Regions from separate parts of the Homo sapiens genome. Here all the other regions are linked to region 2. Evidence: promoter capture Hi-C in 16 types of primary human blood cells and fetal thymus (Javierre and others, 2016). All regions are on one chromosome and are shown on one strand. The core of a region is centred on a gene start or on the middle of the fragment in contact, and the rest is flanking DNA. Distances in the headings are between cores, read along the strand shown.

Region 1 (3,727 bases), core at 628-3,127, 720 kb before region 2:
TGCTTCAGATAAAAAACCTGTCATTCACTAACTCCAATGCTTCAGTTTCAGTATGACAAAAGAAGTGTGACTTCCATTTTACTCTGATGCTATATAACTGATTTCTAACCTTTCAGCCTGCCTAGGGTAGTTAAAAGACGAGTGAATGCTCTCAAAAACCTGCAAGTTAAATGTGCACAGATAGAAGCCAAATTCTATGAGGAAGTTCACGATCTTGAAAGGAAGTATGCTGTTCTCTATCAGCCTCTATTTGATAAGGTAATGCTTTCTCCTACTTTGTTTAATTTAACATTCTAGAAGACGAATTCTAGAAACATAAGCAGACTTGGAAGAGGTTAATCTTTAGAACTCTCATTGAAATTGTTATTAGAGGCAGCACTTGGAGGAACTATCAATAATAGCAGTTAAAGTTGTGGTATGCATTTGTTAAATTTGTAAGACTTCTTAGTGAGAAACCACTGGTTTTAGCTTGGATGCCAGTGTTTTTATACAGCCTTTTTTTTTTAAATCATTTTAGCGATTTGAAATTATTAATGCAATTTATGAACCTACGGAAGAAGAATGTGAATGGAAACCAGATGAAGAAGATGAGATTTCGGTTAGTACCAACTTTATTTTGGTATGTTTTTAAGATGATAAAATCTTAGGACTTGTCAGAAATGTTAGCATTTAATGATGGAGTACAATATTATATAACCAGTTGTATTTTTTCATTTTTTAATTTTACGTCTTTATTACACGTTTTTCTATTACTTTATTTTTAAAAAACAGTCATTCAAGATTGTAATTTGCATGGCAATAAGCAGCGGTTTCATGGGTTCTAAGTTTCTTAAGTGTCCACAGCAGTTTAAAACACCACAAGTCTTATTTCCAATTTGCAGCACCTGACTTAAAGTTCGAATTCATCTGATGGAGCATTAAAACTGTCATTTTCTCTTGTGAAAAGACATAATTGCTATTTCCAGGACTGTATATTGAACATGGTTGTACATTATTTTTAATTGGTTAGTAGAATTTTACTCATGTAATTTATATCCAGAATAAGAACCTCTAGCATCTCTGAATGGCCTTCCTCTCAGAACGATGATGATTAAATGTCTAAAATGTATCTGGGGTGCCCCCACTTGACATTACCAAACATGTTTCCAAATAATCTTAGAAAATATGATTCTTTAAACATATGCATACCACATCTTTAAACATAAACATACCACACAGTGCACCATCACTTCCTTAACCATTTTCCAATTGTTCACTTATAACATTTGCAATTTTTTATTATAAATCATATTGTGATGAATACTTTCATCCATAAGTTTTATTGCAAGGCTTATTGTTTCTTCTAATGTCTTCTAATTTCAAAGAAGTGGCTTACTGGTTCAAACAGTGCACATACGTGGTTTTAAGGCTTTTAGTATACTTTACCAAATAATCTCCAGAATAGCTCCAACAACTCCTACCAACAGTATGTTATTGTGCCCATAGGGTGGACTTGATAACAGCAAAGCAAATTCAACCACAGATATATTAGATTCTCACCCATCTCAAAACTATCACATCAGAGAAGCAAGGAGACATATTATTGGTGAGGAAGCCAAATTCAAATTCTTTTAAAAAATCACTCAGCTTTAGATCAGTAAAATAATCAACAAAAATGGTCACCGCAAAGTCTACCGGGTTTTTCAAAAAATAAAAAGAGAGAAAGAGAAAGGCCAGGCGCAGTGGCTCATGCCTGTAATCCCAGCACTTTGGGAGGCCTAGGTGGGCCAATCACTAGGTCAGGAGTTCGAGACCAGCCTGGCCAACATGGTGAAATCCCATCTCTACTAAAAATACAAAATATTAGCTGGGTGTGGAGGCGGGTGCCTCTAATCCCACCTACTCGGGAGGCTCAGGCAGGAGAATCACTTGAACTCGGGAAGTCGAGGTTGCAGTGAGCCGAGATCGCACCACTGCGCTCCAGCCCAGGCGACAGTGTGAGACTCCGTCTCAAAAAAAAAAAAAAAAAGTACCAAATAACCAAAATTTTTTATTTGACTAAATTCTGTTCATGTATGAGCATGACAGTCTCTCCTGTTTATTTGACTTTGGCAATAAAAAAATAAGCAGCCTTGTACAGAACAGGGAAAATGCCAAGAACGAAGGCAGTCTACAGTTTTACTGTAGAATACATATATATATATATATATATATATATATATGTAGGCCTCTCTCCCTTTGGCCATATCTACTGTCAGTTCAGGCCATTAACTACAGACAAATTTTCAAATTCACTTCTTCTCCAAGATCTTCGATGCTGTCATCATCTACTTCTGTCTGTTTTTCCTGAATGACCTCAATTATGTCATCTGTAAAGTCTCCTTGAATGATAATTTCATCCTCCTCTGTTACTGAGGCACCACAGGAGAATTTTTGAGCAAAAAATCTTTGTGTGATTTAAGATCAATTTCAAAAGTTACAAGGCCACAACCCTTGTCACATATTTCTTTGCTCTGGGAATTTTGGCTATAGTAACCTTTTGTGGTACCGTCTTTGTTTTTTTGTTTTATTTGACCCCTTCCACCTCTCTTCTGTTTTTTCTTCTCCTCTTCTTCCCCTGCTGTTCCTTGACCTTGACAGATTCCAGCTTCTTGTTTGGGTGAATTTTCCACAGTAAGTTTTGCATATTCATTTGGAAAATTCTTCTCTAATCATTGTCTACATTTAGCAACATCAGGCATATATTCACAGTACTCTATTGGTAATGAACAGACTCCACAATAAAGGACTCAAAGTAGGTAATCAGCATCTAACTTGGCTCTGTTCCTTGGGTCTCCTTTGCAGTCAGCCCTATTGGAATCGGAAACGTCAGCAGCCATTTCACAAACCCAGGCAGTTGCACAGGCCCCGCCAGCTCTGCTCCCGCCACTGTTGCCAGCTGAGCCGACAAATGCAACTCGTTTCCCCGGCCAGGGCCTCCCTAGAGCATCAGTTGTATTTTTATACCTAGGAAATATTTTTCCTTTTTGTAAGAATGATAATGCAGATGAACTGTTATTCAACCTGGCACCACCATCTGTACTCAAAAAGTCATTATTTCCTTACATTTTATAGTTTTTTTGTTTAAGAGACAGGGACTTGCTGTGTTGCCCAGGCTGGAGTACACTGGCATGATCTTGGCTCACTGCAGCTCATTCCTGGGCCCAAGCTATTCTCCCACCTCAGCCTCCCAAGTTGCTAGGACTATCTGAAGCTACTATGCCCAGCTTAATCTACTTTTTTTTGTAGAGGCAGAGTCTTCTTGCCTAGGCTGGTCTTAGACTCCTGGCTTCAAGCAATCTTCGCACCTCAGCCTCCCAAACTGTTGGGATTATGGGCTTGAACCACTGAGCCACTGTGCCCAGCCTATTTTTATAGTTTTTTTGAGTCTCTGTTGCCCAGGCTGGAGTGCAGTCTCGGCTTATTGCAACCTCCACCTCCTGGGTTCAAGCAATTCTTCTGCCTCCTTCTCCCAGTAACTGGATAACAGGCGTGCGCCACCATGCCTGACTAATTTTTTGTACTTTTAGTAAAGATGGGGTTTCGCCATGTTGGCCAGGCTGGTCTCCAACTCCTGACCTTAAATGATCCACCCACCTCACTTCCCAAAGTGCTGGGATTACAAGCGTGAGCCACTGCGCCTGGCTTACAGTTTTTAGTTTGTAGATTCATTATATTCTTTTTTTTTTTTTAACTTCATGGTAGGCTG
Region 2 (4,077 bases), core at 1,414-3,913:
TATTAATATATAGTTTTAAACCAACTTTTGATATTATTGATTTTAGTCCTCATACTTTTACTTTCAATTTCATCAAATTATGATCATCTTTAGTTTTTTAAAAATTTTCTTGTGCTTAATTTAAACTTGTTTCCTACCTTCTTGAGTTGAAAGAATAGGTCTTGATTTTTAACCATTCTTCTTTCCTAAAATATTCATTTAAATCTATACGTATGCTTCCAAACACTTCTTTTGCTATATCCCACAAATTTTGATATGCTGTGTTTCCATTAACATTCAAATCTAAATTATAGTAATCTCTATTATTATTTATTCTTTAACTTATGGACCATTTAGATATGTGCTGCTTGATTTCACATTTTGGGAGATTTTGCACACTTTATTTCTGGTTTAAGACTTTTTTTTCAGAAGATATAGGACAAAATTTCAAATACTGTTAATTTATTGAGACTTGTTTTATGGTTCAGCATATTGTTTATATTGATGAATGTAATGAATACTTGATAAAAATTTGTATTTTGCAGTGTGGTATAAATTGTTTAATGTCAATTAGGTAAAATTGTTTGATGTTCAAATCTTTTTTATTTTTACTGATTTTTACCTACTTGTTCTCTTACTCACTAAGATTAAAATCTCTATGACTGTTTTGTCTCTTTCTCCCTTTACTTTTGCCAATTTTTGTGTATTAAAATATATTATTACATTTATTTGTATTGAAGATTGCTGTGTCTTTTGTTGAATTAGCCCTTTTATTTTCCTAAATGTCCCCTTTTATTTCTGGTAGTTCTCCTTGTCTTAAAATCTACTTCAGTAGCCATAAATATAGCTATTCTATCTTAATTTTAGAGTTTGCATAATGTATTTTTTCCATCTTTTTACTTTAATCTATTTGTGATATGTTTCTGTTACAAAAGCATTAATCCAATCTGATAATCTTTATTTTTAATTAAAGTATGTAGTAGTCATTTGCATTTAATGTAATTTTAACATGGTTAAGTTTTAGTCTACCATTTGCTATTTTTAAATGATTCCCTCTTTGTTCTTTTGTTCCTTGTTCCTGTTTTCCAAAAATTAATCAAGGACTTTAGTATTCTACTTACTGGATTTTTAGCTCTACTTCTTTGTATATTTTTAATGGTTATCCTAGATATTAAAATATGCATTCTTAACTTCTCACGGTCCATCCAGAAATATTATTGTGATTCTTAACAATATAAGGAACTTTCAGCAGAATAATTCTATTGACACTTCACTTCATTTTTTATGCATTGGTTATAATGTGTTTAGTTTCTACATTATTATAAACTCCACAATTCATTGTTATCATATTTTGCTTTAAATAGTCAATGAGTACAAAAGAAATATAAAGAACATTTATTATATTTAACCCCACATTTACTCTTTTTTATCATACATTTACAATAAAACTCTAAAGGCATCAACCATATTAATACTAATATTAGTATTTCTGAATTCCGTTGAAGATTTATTTCTAGTTAATTTATGCCTTGGACAACCCCAAGCTGGTAAACATTATATATTAAAATATCTTAACAATTCTGCATTAAAGAGATTAGTTTATTCTTGTTTCATTTCTGATACATATTTGAATCTTTCTCCATCAAAATATAATTTTCTTATACAGTAGACTAGTACAGTTTTGAACTTATTTTAATGCCTGAGTTGTGATTTTATAATTACTTTTGTTTTCCACTGGATAGAAAAGAAGAAAGCTGGAATAGATATGAGTTATACTGTATCTACATCTGCATAGCACATAAAATAGACTAATACTATCAACGTTTATGCTCATAGTGATGCATTTATAAACAAGAAAAAGTTACAATGCAAGGGAAATTTCCAATCATACAATTCATAGTCAAGTATTTAAAATTTTGTAAATTCTATGGATTATTTAATAATCCAATGCTTTTTATGCTTATTCTTCAATAGAGTACTGTATTTTTTTCAAATAATACTACACATGAAGTGTTGTTTTGATCTTGGATTCATATGATATAAAAATAAGTAAGAGAACAAGAGAATCTCCATTCCTGGGCTATTTCTTTGGTATCTTGTATCTTGGTTGTGGGGGGTGGAAATTGCTAGCTAAAAAATGGAAGAAAGAAAACAAAATAATCCTGTGTTCAGTACTTATAACTTTAGTGGTGCAACAAAGCAACTTCCAAACACTGCTCCAGCATCCCCACCTTCCCCGCAAGAGGCAAGGAACAGCTTCAAGTCTTCCTTTCTTGTTCACTCCTATGACTCTGGAGGAGACAGCCCAACCAAGGTGTGAATTTTTTTCTTTTTAACTGCATATATGTAAAGTCCGGATTGAATTAGTACAAGTTAAGTCCGTGAAATTTATCACCCAGATACCTCAGGATGAGTCAGGGATTTAAGAGCCCAGCCCTGGTTCTTTCTCACCATGTATTTCATGTCGGCCGCGGGAGGGTTGACTTTGCCACGCCATTCGTTGTGGGCTTCTATGCAGTTGTCTATAAAGTGTGGGTCAGTGATGGATGGGATTTTGGAAGATGTAGTGGCTACCAAACACAGACCCAAGATCCATAAACAACTGAATTTATTCTTCAGAGCCATGGAAGGATGTGGAGGATGCGGAGGATGCCCTGACTGCGCGGACCAGTAACGGCTGGGGCAACCCGATTTCCCCACGCCCCCGCACCACGCTCTCCCTTGGCTCCATCCTGCCGCACAGGCTCGAGCCCAGCGCGGCTGGATCAACTTGTCAGTGTCGCTGTGGGGAAGAACAGGCAGCAGGGTTCCCCTTCCACAAAGCTCTGAGCTACAGGGGAAAGCTCTGAGTCGCCCTCTGGTGGAGGGAATTTCAACCATCCAAACTGCTTTCTGTGGATCCAATCTGTAATCTGCAGAGCGCGTCTGGATTGTAATACAGATTGCAATATGCAAGCCACACAAGTTAGGTAAAGAACAAGTGCGGGATGCTGACAATGGGCCAGTCGAGTGCAAAGCACTATATATTCGTTTCTTAGACGCAGCTTCCGTGTATAGATTTTTATTGTTCTAAATAATCTAGAATCATATTGCCACTTCCCTCAGAGATTGGGAATAGAGTAAGAATAGGCAATTCTTATACAGTGACATACAGTGATCCTAAATTATCAACTTGTCAAACATTTAATAATTTCCTTCTGTTTTTTCGTCTGAAGAGACCGAATGCTTAGATAGATAACAATAGATGCTTGGAAAATGTAGCCAAGTAGTTCCTCTTGACAAAATCTTCCCTTTTTGATAGTTTGGAACAGAGCCACTGTATGGTGACTGGTAGACTCCAAGAGTTGCTTTAATTGATACACTGAGACTGGGATGGACAGAGTACATTTGATTGTCTATTTTACCTGCAATGCAATATAAATCAACGTCATTTGGCTTAATGTTTTAAATTCATTACATCAGTTATATTGATATTCTGTAATAAACCAGCATTTTTCCCCATGACATTAATTTTTTTTAGTATTTCTATGTTTCAAATAAATACCTTTACTTAGTAATTTGAAGTTGTTTACAATGCTGTTTAATTCAAGTGAACACGTACTTACATCTGCTGAATGATCCGCCATAGTCAACCTTGACACAAAAAACAAAAACCAAAACAAACTACTTTGATGCAGCTACTATCTTTTTAAAAATAAAAAGCAGAAAATTAGATTATAAGAAAACGAAAAATGCAAGGATCCTAATGGAAATTCTACTGGGCAATAGATAATATATTTCTAGTCTACTACCAGCTAATGGAGAATTGCTGTATATACTACTTTCATATCACATACATAGTCCAAACTGAGCTTCTGATATCCCACACCCAAAGACATGAACATATATACGTGTGTGTGTGTGTGTATATGTGTGTGTGTAGGTATACAGATAGATAAATCAATACAGTTATATACATCTACATGTGTCTATATATATATGTCTCTTCCTGGATATAAAGATATCTATAGGCATATACACACATACATATACACACATACATTTATATATGTAAAGTTCTCTCTATGTATAAATCTGTTTGTATACACATATATGTGT
Region 3 (4,264 bases), core at 86-2,585, 680 kb before region 2:
ACAGTTACTTGAGGAGGTAGCTGCCTAGATTTGTAGCCTGTGTAGGTGTTGGGAGAAATATTTTCTGAAAAGGTTGGTTGAGGGTAGTGGATCTATGGGCACTGGTGAGATCCTAATACGTGGAGTGATAAAAATTTGTTGCTGCCCTTCTGGGCAACTAGGTGAATGCAATTCACATAGCTCCAAATTAAACCATAAATAACAGTTTTTGACCTACCTAGGATATTAAGAACTTCAAACCACACAATGTTTTCTTGTGTGCTTCTTTTACTTAAGGATTTAACTTGGAGAAGATTTTAGAGTTTGTAATAACTTTTCATGAAAGGATAGGGAGAAAAAAGGAGCAGGATCTTTAATAAGTAGATGTACTTCTGCATCCAGCAATCCGGCTTTTAATTCAAAATTGTGTATGTGCTCTGGGTGATGCCAACATTTCCTCTTACATAAAGTGACCTTTTACGGGGTTTCATTCATAGCACTTGGCTCCCTCCTGGAGTCACAGTGCTTGTCACAAGGCAGTGGATTGCCTGCTGGTTCTTATGCAAGTGATGACTGGGAGGGCTGATAGGGGGTAACGCGGACAGCCTCTCTCTCTGACAGCAGATTGTCAGCATTCTTGACCCGGGCACTCTAAGAGCCTGGGAAAACACTTTGATTTCAATGTGGCTTTAAAAAATGATATTCAGTTGAACCAAATGACTGTGTAAAATAGGACCACAGGGCAGGCCAGGAGCGGTGGCTCATGCCTGTAATCCCAGCACTTTGGGATGCCAAGGTGGGCGGATCACCTGAGGTGAGGAGTTCAAGACCAGCCTGGCCAACATGGTGAAACCCCTTCTCTACTAAAAATACAAAAAATTAGCTGGGCTTGGTGGCAGGCGCCTGTAATCCCAGCTACTCGGGAGGCTGAGACAGGAGAATTGCTTGAACCCAGGAGGCGGAGATTGCGGTGAGCCAAGATCACGCCATTGCACTCTAGCCTGGGCAACAAGAGTGAAACTCCGTCTCAAAAAAAAAACACCCTGTTGTTACAGATAAATCAAAATAAGTGTATTAAGATAAAGATTTACTTCTCTTTTATGTAAAAGTAACCTAGATGTGGGTGGCCCAGGGTGGGTAAGGTGACTTTAGTTTGTCACAGATCCGGGTTCCTTCTTTCTTTTCTCTTCTACCACCCTTGGTACAGGACTTCTAGCCTCATGATTCAAGATGGCTGCTGGAGTTCCAGCTACCATATTCGAGCTCTAGAACAGGAAGAAAGAAAATTAGGGAAACAGCAGCTCACTGCAGCCTCAACCTCCTGGGCTCAGGTGATCCCCCTGCCTCAGCCTCCTGAGAAGCTGGGATCACAGGCACGCACCACCACACTCAACTAATTTTTAAATTATTTGTAGAGACAGGGTCTCCCTATGTTGCCCAGACTTGTCTCGAACTCCTGGACTTAAGTGATTCTCTCAACTTGGCCTCCCATAGTGCTGGGATTACAAGTTTGAGCTACCATATCCAGCCTAGAAAAATTTTGGAATCCCAATATGGTGACTTCCACTTAACACCACATTTGCTATCCAGGGTTGCAAAGGAGGGCTAGAAATGTACTGGCCAAATTGCCATCCCAAATAAAATTAGGGTTCTGTCAGCAAAGAAGGAGGGGAGAATGGTTATTGGAAAGGAAACTAGCAGCCTCTATTATAGGTCTTATTAGCCTCTACTTAATAGATAAGAAATTGAGGATTGGGGAACTGAAGAAACTTGCCAAATAAACAGCAGGATGAGAATTGTTATCTGGGTATTTAACTCCACTGCCTTTGCGCTTAAACGCTATGCAAACTGTGGCTGTGTGCTAGCACTAAAATACGATGCAGACCTCTCTCAGAGATGGGAATGCTCTTAAAGACATTAATTTAGAGTATTTTAGGTATTCTTTTTTTTTTTTTTTTTTTTTTGAGACGGAGTCTTGCACTCTCACCCAGGCTGGAGTGCAGTGGCGTGATCTCGGCTCACTGCAAGCTCTGCCTCCCGGGTTCACGCCATTCTCCTGCCTCAGCCTCCCGAGTAGCTGGGACTACAGGCGCCCACCACCACACCCAGCTAATTTTTTTTGTATTTTTAGTAGAGAAGGGGTTTCACCATGTTAACCAGGATGGTCTCGATCTCCTGACTTCGTGATCCGCCCGCCTCGGCCTCCCCAAGTGCTGGGATTACAGGCGTGAGCCACCGCGCCCGGCTATTTTAGGTATTCTTATAATTCTTACTAAGGTTTACACTTTCCTTTCTCATATGGTACTGTTGTAATGATTTTCAATTGGTCCTTCGTTACATCTGAACAATTTAAATAGAACAAAACTAAATTTCAAAACAGAAATACGTAGTTGCTTTCAGTGCCTTCCTGTCAGAGTCATATTGACATGGTAAAGATATAAGAAAGATCGAAGGTTCTTAGCGGAAACTGGAGCAATAAAGCCAGAGACACCATCAGTGGTGCTTGCTGGTTTTGCAGAAGCTAGCTCCCTTAGAGACGTCATGTCCAGCACCAATCACAGAGTCTATCAAAAGATCCAAATCAAGAAAACAGGAGAAGAATCTCAGGCTTTTCATTCATGCTCAACAAGAGGAGCATGCTTTTACACTATCCCGGGAGATTCCTCAAGGGTCAACAAAGAGTAGTAGAAAGAATCCTAGATTCTAGACTTGGCTTTGCCGTTAACAAGTTGTGTGACCCTGAGCACATGATTTTGCGTCTCTGGACTTTAGTTTCTTTGTCTTTAGAGTAAAGATATTCTTCAATTGCCCTGTTTCAGTTGTAATAGTTTACAAGTAGTGATTTCTGTACTCATTTGCCTTTCTTTGGAAAGACTACAACTTTGAATTTGAAGGACCTGGATATGACTCAGTGCTGACTCTCTTAAGCTGTGTAACTTTGCACAAGTCACCTAACATTTTTGAATCTTAGTTTTCTTACCTGTAAAATAGGTATAATAAATCCTGTCTCATGGAGCTAGTGTGACGATTAAAATAATGAGATGTGAGAGAACTTTGTCTCCATTCAGACAAAACATCTAGAAAGTGCTTGTCTCCACTGTCTGCTAAAGAGCATCCCCATTTCATGACCCTTCCTTCCTTCTTTCCTTCCTTCCTTCTTTCCTTCCTTCCTTCTTTCCTTCCTTCCTTCCTCCTTCCCTTCCCTTTTCTTTCTTTCTTTCTTTCTTTCTTTCTTTCTTTCTTTCTTTCTTTCTTTCTTTCTTTCTTTCTTTCTTTCTTTCTTCCTGTCTCTTTCTTTCTCTCTCTCTCTCTCTCTTTCTTTCTTTCTTCCTTTCTCTTTCTTTCTTTCTCTCTCTCTCTCTCTCTCTCTCTCTCTCTCTTTCTTTCTTTCTTTCTTTCTTTCTTTCTTCTTCAGGTTCTTACTGGGGTACAGTGGCACGAACATGGCTCACTGCAACCTTGACTTCCTGGGCTCAAATGATTCTCCTGCCTCAGCCTCCCTAGTAGCTGGCACAACAGGCATGTACTAACATGCCCAGCTAATTGTTTAAATGTTTTGTAGAGATGGGGTCTATGTTACCTAGGCTATTCTCAAACTCTTGGGCTCAAGCAATCATCTTCCTTCGGCTATCCAAAGTGCTGGGATTACAGACATAAGACACCCTCACCCTGCTCTATTAATTTCTTTTTCTTTCTTTGTTTTTTTTTGTTTTGTTTTGTTTTTTGTTTTTTTTTTTGAGATGGAGTCTCGCTCTGTTGCCCAGGCTGGAGTGCAATGGCGTGATCTCGGCTCTCTGCAAGCTCCGCCTCCCGGGTTCAAGCAGTTCTCTGCTTCAGCCTCCCGAGTAGCTGGGAATACAGGTGCTTGCCAACATGCCCGGCTAATTTTTTAAATATTTTTAGTAGAGATGGGGTTTTACCATATTGGCCAGGCTGGTCTCGAGCTCCTGACCTCGTGATCCACCTGCCTCGGACTCCCAAAGTGGGGATTACAGGCGTGAGCCACTGCACCCAGCCTGCCCTTTTAATTTCAATCTCTTGGAGCCACATGCAGCAAACATCTTCATCAATTTACAAAAGCATCTGGTTTTACTCTGTGATTTTCCCCTTCCTTCCTATGGGAAAAAGAAGGAAACTATAAGACCTGCTATTTTATAGGATTTTGTTTTGGTTTTGGTTCTTTTGACACACAGTGTGTCTTCAACCCACCTGTATAATGAGAACTCCTTAGAATAATGAAGGGTGCTACATAATCAAAGTACGTGGTTGCTTGCTGAGGTCGGAA
Region 4 (4,264 bases), core at 594-3,093, 640 kb before region 2:
CATCTCCAGGATTCTGCCCTTTTAATCTGTGAGACATGAGGAACGATTTTTCATCTTCTCCCCAACACAGGCACTACTCCACAACTCCATTGCAGTGATCATATTATTGTTATCCTCTTATGATATACTTCTCTCTTTTGTAATATCTATGGCCATTCATTTGTTCATTCTTGATTCATTTGTTTAATCAAAAAATATTTTTTGGGCCGGGTGCGGTGGCTCATGCCTGTAATCCCAGTACTTTGGGAGGCCGAGGCGGGTGGATCACGAGGTCAGGAGATCGAGACCATCCTGGCTAACACGGTGAAACCCTGTCTCTACTAAAAATACAAAAAATTAGCCAGGCGTGGTGGTGGGTGCCTGTAGTGCCAGCTACTTGGGAGGCTGAGGCAGGAGAATGGCGTGAACCCGGGAGGCAGAGATTGCAGTGAGCAGAGATCGCACCACTGCACTCCAGCCTGGGCGACAGAGCGAGACTCCGTCTCAAAAAAAAAAAAAAAAAAAAAAAATTTGATCTCATAGTAAATGCTAGGCAGTGTCTTAGACCCTGGTGATACATAACGATACAGACGAACATCATAGTTTGTTTTATTTTAAACAATTTTCATTTTTTTGCATGAATTTTAAAAACACAATTATGTAATTGCAAGTACTACAAAAAGAAGTTGCTTGTTTGTCATTGATAGGAATAATTAAAAAAAAAAAAGTCATATGTAAGACTCAATGGTAGGGAAATAATGTGGATTTTACTAGGAGATGGAGCAGGAACCTGACAAGAATAAAACCACATGTGTCATTTTCCCTGCTCTTGTCATTGCTGTTTCTACAATGGCAGCAAAAACTTGGGTTATGTTTTCATGGATATTAGTCTCTTCTCCAAGTCATTGTAGAAGCATCATTGATCTGTTTTTTCACTTTGCGTAAGTTACCAAATTTTTCCATATATCTCAAATAGTTAGTATCACACAGTGTTAGAATTGGAAAGGCCCTCCAATGTTTATCTATGAGGAAATTGAGTTTCAGATGGAGAGGTGATTTGTCTAACATTAGTGGCTAGTTAGTAGCAGAGCTAGTTCTGCTCTTCTTCCTCCAAAATGGAATTCCTGAGTTATTTGTTTTCCTAAGATCTATTCCATGATTGACCAGACTACACTATGCTGCCAGCTCCTGTCTGTATCTAACACAGATATTTACATAATGCCTCTCTTGACAATATAGTAATATATATTGAAAGTCTACTGTAAGTAAGCGATGAGCTGAGGGCTTTACACACATGATGTTATTAATCTTCACCCTAACACTTTAAGAGGAATGTTGTTATTGTTTTCATTTTACAGATGAGAAAACAGAGAGACTAAGTCAACGATTCCTTAACTAGCTTTAAAAAGTCAGATTATTCAAGGCCAGGTGCAGTGGCTCATGCCTGTAATCCAAACACTGGGAGGCCAAGGTGGGAGGATCACTTGAAACCAGGAGTTCAAGACCAGCCCAGACAACAAAGTGAGACCCATTTCTACCAAAAAAAACCATATTAGCCAAGCATAGGGGTGCACATCTGTGGTCCCAGCTACTCAGGAGGCTGAGACGGGAGGATCATTTGAGTTCAGGAGTTCAAGCCTGCAGTGAGTCACAATGGTGCCACTGTACTCCAGCCTGGGTGGTAGAACAAGACCTTGTCTCTTAAAAAATTAGATTATCTTGAAGAACAAAATAATGATAGCATTGAATTAAAACTCAGAATAAAATAAATATCCACGAGTCCATACTGATATTGATAAGTAATTGAAAAAATGAAGAGAAGGCACAACTTTTCCTTACAGAACTCTTCCTGGAAAATTCTAACTAATAAAGGTAGAAGGAAGGAAATAGAAACTCACCATTAGAATACCCCATTAATAATTGTTGCAGACATCAGTGTGTGGAAGTTTGAGGAGAAACACAATATTTACTCTCTCAGAGTATCTCCCTCAAGATTATTAATCACAAATGGAGACATACTAACTTGACAGCAGAAAACTCCAGCAGACACCACCTTAATTGAGTGATCCAGGTTAACCTCACCAGTAGTGAGATATAATGATATCTCCTAACCCAAAACGATACACTGAGAAGGGCACTTCACTTTGGTGGCATTCTTGCTAAAAATGTAAAACATCAATCTCATCTTGAGAAAACATCAGACAAACACAAATTGAGCAACATTCTATAAAATATTTACCACTCATCTTCAAAAGTGTCTAGGTCATGAAAGTCAAGGAAAGACTAAGGAACTGTCATAGTGTGGCGGAGACTAAGGGGACATGACGACAAAATGTAATGTGGAATCCTGTAAGAGAAAAAGATTTTGGTGGAAAAACTGGTGAAAATTGAATAAGTATCACTCCATGTAGGTATAGCATTGTGTCAATGTTAATTTCTTATCTTTGATAATTGTGTTATGGCTATGCAAGTTGCTAACATTAAAAGAAGCTAGGTAAAGGACATATGGAAACTGTCTGTACTGTTTTTGCAACAAATTTTTCTTTTCTTTCTTTCCTCCTTTTTTTTTTTGTTTTGTTTTGTTTTTGAGACAAGGTCTTGCTCTGTCACCCAGGCTGGAGTAAAGTGACATAACTCACTGTAGCCTTAAACTCCTGGGCTCAAGTGATCCTTCTGTTTCAGCCTCCTGGGTAGCTGGGTAGCTGGAACAGGTGCATAGCACCAGGCTCAGCTAATTTTAAAAATTTTTGTAGGGATGGTGTATTAGTCGATTCTCATGCTGCTAATAAAGACATACCTGAGACTGGGTAACTTATAAAGGAAAGAAGTTTAATTGACTCACAATTCCACATGGTCGGGGAGGCCTCAGGAAATTTACAATCATGGCAGAAGGTACCTCTTCACAGGGTGGCAGGAGAGAGAATGAGTGCTCAGCAAAGGGGGAAACCCCTTATAAAACCATCAGCTATCATGAGAGCTAACTCATTATCATAAGAATCATGTGGTAACCCCCACCCCCCATGATACAATTATCTCCTCCTGGTCCCTTCCATGACGCATGGGGATTATGGTAACTATGATTCAAGATGAGATTTGGGTGGGGACCCAACCAAATGATATCAGATGGGGTCTTGTCATGTGCAACTTTTCTTTAAGTGTAAACGTATTTCAAAATTGAACCAGGTCCCATTTAAGACTTACTAAATCAGAATTTTGCCAGTTCGTATGATCCAGAACTCTGTACTGTCCTGGGTGACCCCTGTGTCTGAGTTTGCATATGTAGGAAGTGGTAGGACCAGGATTTGAACCTAGGTCTGCCTGATTGCAAAGCTCTTCGCCAGAGCAGGCTGCCTAATAGATACTTGAAGTTAAGTGGAAATCCAGATTAAAAATATCAACAATGTTTGAGATAAAAACACTCAGTGAAAATTATTGTATTTTTATATCTTGTTCTTTTAAATATACAGAGATGATGTTTGGTGATTAAATTGAACTAAAGACTAAATCCTTCTTCCTGATCCTAATTCCCAAGTCATCTTCATTTATTTTAAATAGGCAGCGTAATTATCTCAACCAAATAGGCTATTCCTGAGTTATAGTACCAAAACTTGCTCCATTGTTGGTAGAGAAGAACTCAAAACTGTAATTGCAAATGTCACTGTTGTAAAGTATGGTCAAATCATAAGAATTTAATGATATATGCATTTTGGACTAAGTAAAAAGAGCAAAATCAAATTCTAAAGATAATTATCCAAGCGTGGTTAAAAAAATCAAGGCCTGTTTAATCTGTTTTCTCTCTCATTTGGCCCAGTTCATCTCTCAGATGGCCTCAGACCCTGGCAAGTAGAAGTTCTGAGCAGGCTGGAATTACCCACACTTGGGGAGATAGGTTGCCAAAGAGGTGTGGCTAGGAGGGTGATGAAAAAGGCTCTGTGCCCAAGGCTTCTTCCTTCTCACTAACTTTGGTGCCAGGCACCCTATTAGTGCCTAGAGATGTAGAGATGAATATGGCACAATCCCTGCCTTCAAATCACTCCTGGCTTAGTTTGGGTGAGAGAACTATGGATGGCTCAGAGCTGGGGATTGGACAAGTAAGGGCAAAAAGAAGGGAAAAATTGCTATTGGAACAAAAACTGATTCTCACCATTTCACATACTAGGAGACTGACATGAGTTACCCAGGTGTGATGGCTCTTTGACTTAAAAATTAAACTTGAACTACTTCTTTTTGAGTAGTCAGCCTCTCCTCCTCTGTGGCTGGGCCTGTGGTCTGGAAGGAGAGAAGG

Evidence for each region. The method cuts DNA at HindIII sites, captures the fragments that hold promoters and counts their contacts. A CHiCAGO score of 5 or more calls a contact.
Region 1: a contact is called between a fragment that was not itself captured here and the fragment with the promoter of GLIPR1L1 in region 2, in 2 of 17 cell types (neutrophils and total CD4 T cells). The highest score is 8.9, in neutrophils.
Region 3: a contact is called between a fragment that was not itself captured here and the fragment with the promoter of GLIPR1L1 in region 2, in 1 of 17 cell types (neutrophils). The highest score is 7.2, in neutrophils.
Region 4: a contact is called between a fragment that was not itself captured here and the fragment with the promoter of GLIPR1L1 in region 2, in 1 of 17 cell types (monocytes). The highest score is 5.7, in monocytes.

Annotation. Positions count from the first base shown.
Region 1 is chr12:76,056,669-76,060,395 of GRCh38, reverse strand. NAP1L1 (nucleosome assembly protein 1 like 1) reads left to right here. Exons shown (of 15, transcript NM_004537.7): 5 at 117-258; 6 at 518-598. It also overlaps the pseudogene DENRP2. Among named protein-coding and RNA genes, the nearest start is that of NAP1L1, 26 kb to the left of the region's middle. The HindIII fragment of the contact is 7,125 bases long and covers 1-3,727 here.
Region 2 is chr12:75,333,256-75,337,332 of GRCh38, reverse strand. GLIPR1L1 (GLIPR1 like 1) reads right to left here and starts at 2,663. Exons shown (of 6, transcript NM_001304964.2): 1 at 2,431-2,663. The coding sequence starts at 2,604. It also overlaps a transcript of CAPS2 not described here. RefSeq lists a silencer at 2,817-2,926. The HindIII fragment of the contact is 15,549 bases long and covers 1-4,077 here.
Region 3 is chr12:76,014,600-76,018,863 of GRCh38, reverse strand. No RefSeq gene overlaps it. Among named protein-coding and RNA genes, the nearest start is that of PHLDA1-AS1, 14 kb to the left of the region's middle. The HindIII fragment of the contact is 6,475 bases long and covers 1-4,264 here.
Region 4 is chr12:75,970,134-75,974,397 of GRCh38, reverse strand. No RefSeq gene overlaps it. Among named protein-coding and RNA genes, the nearest start is that of PHLDA1-AS1, 58 kb to the left of the region's middle. The HindIII fragment of the contact is 4,874 bases long and covers 1-4,264 here.